Linked DNA regions of Homo sapiens: region 2 is linked to region 1. The links are contacts of gene promoters, found by promoter capture Hi-C in human tissues and cell types (Jung and others, 2019). All regions are on one chromosome and are shown on one strand. Each heading gives the region's core, a stretch centred on a gene start or on the middle of the fragment in contact. The rest is flanking DNA. Distances are from core to core; before and after follow the strand shown.

Region 1 (2,915 bases), core at 180-2,679:
GCTCTCAGTTGCTGGGGTAAATGTGATGAACACGAGCCAAGAACACTGTCAATTCACTCTGCATAACCTTCACCGCCCACATACCGCAGGTACAAGACAAACCTCCTTTCTCCACTCCAGACTCACTAAGGTCCCCACCTAGTCTTACAGCCACATGCTTCTGCCGGACCCTCTAAAACTTAACATACAAAACCCTCTAATTTTTTTTTACATAGTCCATTCTTTCAAAATGTTTAATGTTCATTAAACTATTTTGAAACAAAAACTATAATACAGTTACAATTCAGTTTTCCATTTTGGATTTTAAAATGCTCTGGTTCGAGTCTCGACATTTTTCTTAAAAATGAACATTACGGTATATTTTAGGAGATAATTTATATGGAAAAAAACACACACACTAAATGTCGGCTTGCACCTAAATTGTTTACACGTTCATGGGAAAACCTAGCTGTTAACCTTGGTGAGGGCTAAGATCGCCCTCTACAAGATAAACACGTTTCTCCCAATTCCAAGGGGAGCCTGCGTGCTCCCCTCCCCCACTCTGGTGGCCCGGAGGACAGAGGGGACCCTAGGACTGGAGGGGGACGGAGACGGGCTCAGGGATGGAGGGGGACAGAGAGGGACCCGGAGGTGGAGGAGGACAGAGAGGGGTACCCCAAGGTTAGAGAACAGAGGATGACTAGGGGGATGTAGGGAAACAGAGCGGCGCAGAAGAGGACAGTTGGGGACGGGGCGGCCCCGGGCATAGAAGGGGACAGTTGGCGACCGGGAAGCCCCCGGCGTAGAAGGGGACAGTTGGGGACGGGGCGGCCTCGGGCATAGAAGGGGACGGGGGGGAACCGGGCGGCCCCGGGACCGGACGGCCGCCCGCAGGGTGAGCTGCCGGAACCGGGGCTCGCGCGGCGACAGGGCCCGGCTTGGTGACCGGGACGGGCGTGGGGTGGCGGGACCGGGCAGCGGGGAAGAGAGACCGGGACTGGGGACAGGCGACGCGGCCCGCCCCGGCTCTCCCAGCCCCGGCTCCCTTAGCTCCGGCCGCGGGCGCAGTGCAGGGCTCGGCCGCGCACCTCACAGCGCGGACTCCTCCGGCGCGCGGCCGCCCGCGCCTTATATACCCTGCTAAAAATAGCCTGCGAGGCCACTTTCCAATCAGAACGAGCAGAGTTCGAATTGAGCCAATGGTGCGGGCCGTGATGGAGAGTCTCGGTCACGCCAGGCGGGGCCGCTGTGTGTCGCCGCCTGCGATTGGCCGGAGCTGACATCATCGGCGCGCAGCCCCCGGGCCGGGAGCCACGGGATTGGGCCGCGCACGGGGCGGGCGCGGGGCGAGTCACGTGGGGGGAGGGGGAGTGGGGGGAGCCAGGCGGGGGCGGAGGGGGAGGCTGGCAGCGGAGCTTTGAATAGGGAAGTTTTGCAGGGGTTACGTTTGCAGTCAGTCCGGTGTTTGCAAATATTGTGTGGGCTCCGCGCGCTGCGGGCTGCGGGAGGGTCCGGCCGGGCGTCTCTGCGAGCCTGGAGTTTGCATGAAACTTTCACCTGCGCTCCGGGGAGACTTTCGGCTCCGGCTCCCACCGCGCGCCTCGCCGCCCTCGCGACCGCGGGCTCCGTCCAACCCGGCCCGACATGGACGTGCTCCCCATGTGCAGCATCTTCCAGGAGCTCCAGATCGTGCACGAGACCGGCTACTTCTCGGCGCTGCCGTCTCTGGAGGAGTACTGGCAACAGGTAAACGCAGCCGGCCGCGGTTCCCTGCGGGCGCCGGGGCGCGGGCCGGGTCGGCTGTTTGGGGTTCAGACCCGGTGCTCTCTGCGGTCCGCTGGGCCTGGGCCCCGCGCTGTCACCGGGGGAGCGGGCGCAGCGCCCCCGCCGATCGATCCTCCAGGCTGCGATCAGCGTCCGCCCAGGGAAGCCCCAACTCCCGGCACAGCCCGGCCGAGCCCCTGGCACGAGTTCGGAGCCTGTCCCCGCTCCAGACGCCACAGCTGGAGCTTGTCATGGGGACCAACTTGCTCTGCCTGCCAAGGTGTTTTTTTTTTGTTTGTTTGTTTTTTGTTGTTTTTTTTTAACGGATTTTGTTTTTGTTTTGTTTCTTGGTGCTTGTACTTAACAGTTTTTTAAAAAAATCACATTTTGCCCCCAGAACGTAGACCAGCTCTCTTTTATTTTTGTCTTTTTTAAACTGTAGACCATTTCCAATGTGTTTTCTGCTCTTTGGAATGCCTAACATTTCCCCTAGATCTGCCTTATTTGTCTTCCCTGCTTCTCTTGTTGACCAAGAAAAATAAAAATAAAACTGTGTACACCCCAGTGACTTGTCAGTCTTGTGACAATGAGCCCGTCCAAACTGCTTCAAGTCTTAGTTTGGAAAGAAGGACCTCGGTTTCCGACATTGTCGTAGAACTGGAATTTGGGGGCATTGGAAATTTAAGAAACTTACCAGGTCCCCGTGCTTATAGGTAGCATCGCCCGAGGGGAGAGAGACTGACACTCCTCCCATTGTCTCTCCAGCGATCGCAGGAGGGTTTACTGTTGTCTCCCTGCCCTGCTGTGCTGTTTGTTTTTCGTCACAAAGTGAATTGCCAGATCAAATAGAGGCTGTGGGTTTCCAAGCCTCGAAAGCTTTAAGGAAGATGAAATGCAGGGTGTTGCAACCTTCACACGCCTGCTTAATTGTTCACAGTCCTCTCCTGCCTTTTCCCCCTCCCCCTCCTGTTTTTTTCCTCCTCAAAGAAGCTGCTCCCTAGGACGTGATTGAAATTGATCTAAGTAGTTTCCTTCGGGCGTTTGGGATTTGGGCAAACGGCCAGACCTGGCTCTTGGTCGCCTTTGGAGGCTTTTAAACTCTCCGAGAGCTTCGTTCAGGTCCCGGGTGCTCATCAGCGTAATGGAGATTTTAAATTGGCCGGATTATTAAA
Region 2 (2,915 bases), core at 262-2,761, 1.0 Mb before region 1:
TTTCAGATGAACCTGCCCAACATAGCAAGACCCTGTGTCTACGAAAAAAGAAAATTAGCTGGGCATGTTAGTTTGTGCCTGTGATCCCAGCTATGAGGTGGGAGGATTGCTTGAGCCTCCATGTTTGAGGCTGCAGTGAGCTATGATTGTGCCACTGCACTCCAGCCTAGGTGATGGAGTGAGACCCCCCCATCTCTAATAAATAAATAAATAAATAAATAAATAAATATCAGTTGCATGTTAATGTGCTAGCAATGAACAATTTGAAATTGAAATTTCAAGACTGCCATTTTAATAGCACCAAAAACCTAAAATAATTATGATGTATAAATGTAACAAACTCTGTGAATGACCTGTATGTCAAAAAATTTAAAAAAAAGTATGAAAGAAACATTGATTAAAGACCACCTAAAAAGACATGAAGATGTTCTCTAGTCATGATCTGGAAGACTCAAGTGATATTGTCATTTCTCCCCAAATTAATTTATAGAATTAATGCAATTTGAATCAACATGACACGTGATTTTTAAAATAAGAGTTGACACAGTGCTTCTAAAATTTAGTAAAAATTCAAAAGAATAACCCAAACCACACTGAAAAAGGGAGAACATAATTGGAGGGCTCACGCTACCTGGCTCAAGGCTCACTGTAAAGCTGCAGTAGTCAAGTCAGTGTGGCATTAGCAGAAGGATAGACACCTGAATGAATGAAACTGAAAAGAGTCCAGAAATAGACTTGCTAAATATTGTCAATTGATTTTCTACAAAGCTTTGCAAAGGCAATTCAATTGAGAAAGGAAAGTCTTTGTAGTAATCGATGCTGGGATATTCGTATGCATAAAAATTGCACTTTGACCCATATCTTGCACTGTATAGAAAAATTAACTCAAAATAGATTATAGACTTAAATATTAAAACATATAAAGTTTGTTTTTAAAATTGCTTTAAGTTCCAGGATACATGTGCAGAACATGCAGGTTTGTTACATAGGTACACGTGTGCCATGGTGGTTTGCTGTACCTATTGACTTGTCCTGTATGTTTCCTCCCCTTGCTCCCCGTCCCCCAACAGGCCCTGGTGTGTGTTGTTCCCCTCCCTGTGTCCATGTGTTCTCATTGTTCGACTCGTACTTATGAGTGAGAACATGCAGTGTTTGGTTTTCTGTTCCTGTGTTAGTTTGCTGAGAATGATGGCTTCCAGGTTTATCCATGTCCCTACAAAGGACATGATCTCATTCCTTTTTGTGGCTGAATAGTATTCCATGGTGTATATGTGCCACATTTTCTTTATCCAGTCTATCACTGATGGGCATTCGGGTTGGTTCCAAGTCTTTGCTATTGTGAATAGTGCTGCAGTAAATATACATGTGCGTGTGTCTTTATAGTAGAATGATTTATATTCCTTTGGGTATATACCCAGGAATGGGATTGGTGGGTCAAATGATAATTCTGGTTCTAGATCCTTGAGGAATCACCACACTGTTTTCCAAAATTGTTAAACTAATTTACATTCCCACCAACAGTTTAAAAGCCTTCCTATTCCTCCACAGCCTTGCCGGCATCTATTGTTTCTTGACTTTTTAATAATCGCCATTCTGACTGGCGTGAGATGGTATATCATTGTGGTTTTGACATATAAAATTTCTAGAAGTAAACTTGATGACCGTAAGTTCAGCAAAGAGTTCTTAGATATAAGAATAAAAACACTGTCCTTGAAAGAAAAGGTCAAATATAATTAATCAAAATTAAGAAATCCTGCCTTTTGAAAGACCCTGTTAAGAAAATGTAAAGACAAGCCAAACACTATGAGAAAATACTAGCAAAACATATATTTAATCAATAAGTAACATTCAAAATATATAATAAACTTTGAAAATTCAATAGTGAAGAAAGAGAGCAATAAAAATTGGGCAAAATATTTGATAAGACATTTCACCAAGATATATGAATAGAAAATAAACGTGAAAAGATGCTGAATATTCTTAATTATTACAGGAATTCAAATTAAACCACAATAAGATACTACTACACCTCTATTAGAATAATCAAAATAAAAAAGCACTGGCTACATAAGTGTCAGCAAAGATGCTGACCAAACAGAACTCTCCTCTATTGCTGGTAGAAATGCCAATGGTATAGTCACTTTGGAAAAAAACATTTAAAGTGGCTTTGTTTGTAATCCTCCCTGGAAACTGGAAACATGAAGAGACCTTTCTACCATATTCACACATTTACCCACTTCCAATCTTTATTTTACTAGGAATCTTTTAATGATAAACATATTCCAAATAAGGACCAATAAGGATTTTGAATATTAAAAAGTAGAGGTTTTTAAATTCTGAGGATTAGTGATAATGTACATGTTGGCACATATGTATTTTATTTTTACCTGTATACACTTTCTTATTCTTCTGCAAATCAAAGTATACATTAACCCTGAGACCCCAGCTCCTTCATTTCATCCTCACGTGATAAACTCTGGGAAAACTTTAAAACACATTTACAAAGGACATGATTGCAACTTTTGCATGCTCTTTCAGCAGAGCTAAATTCAGGATATAATTATTTTCTTTAAAAATTCGGTTGACTCAACATATTTTCTAAAGAGGAAATTCCAAGGCATTGAAAAACACATCTGTGTTATACAGAAAACATTTTCTAAGCAGGAAAAGTCTTTCTGACTATGCAAAATATCATCAGATTTTCAATTGCATGTTATCTCTATCCAAAGACTCCTTTTCCTTGAGTCAGTATGGTTTAGAAACATGGGCAAGCAAGTCATGGTAATGTCAGAAGCTTAGCCAAACTACTATGAAAAACAGATACTGTATTAAGGGATTTTCTTGGGACAAAACAGCAGCTTTTTAAGTCAGCTCTGCATCTCTGGTTTGCACGGTTAGGCTTGATAATGGCACGC

Evidence for each region. Contacts are between HindIII fragments. The study calls those that stand out against the background at their distance.
Region 2: a contact is called between a fragment that was not itself captured here and the fragment with the promoter of KLF6 in region 1, in 1 of the 25 tissues and cell types used here (IMR-90 fibroblasts).

Annotation. Positions count from the first base shown.
Region 1 is chr10:3,783,723-3,786,637 of GRCh38, reverse strand. KLF6 (KLF transcription factor 6) reads left to right here and starts at 1,429. Exons shown (of 4, transcript NM_001300.6): 1 at 1,429-1,725. The coding sequence starts at 1,624. RefSeq lists silencers at 520-579, 760-1,039, 1,290-1,889, a promoter at 691-1,628 and enhancers at 1,495-2,050, 2,051-2,607, 2,608-2,915. The HindIII fragment of the contact is 14,996 bases long and covers 1-2,915 here.
Region 2 is chr10:4,804,481-4,807,395 of GRCh38, reverse strand. No RefSeq gene overlaps it. Among named protein-coding and RNA genes, the nearest start is that of AKR1E2, 20 kb to the left of the region's middle. The HindIII fragment of the contact is 6,184 bases long and covers 1-2,915 here.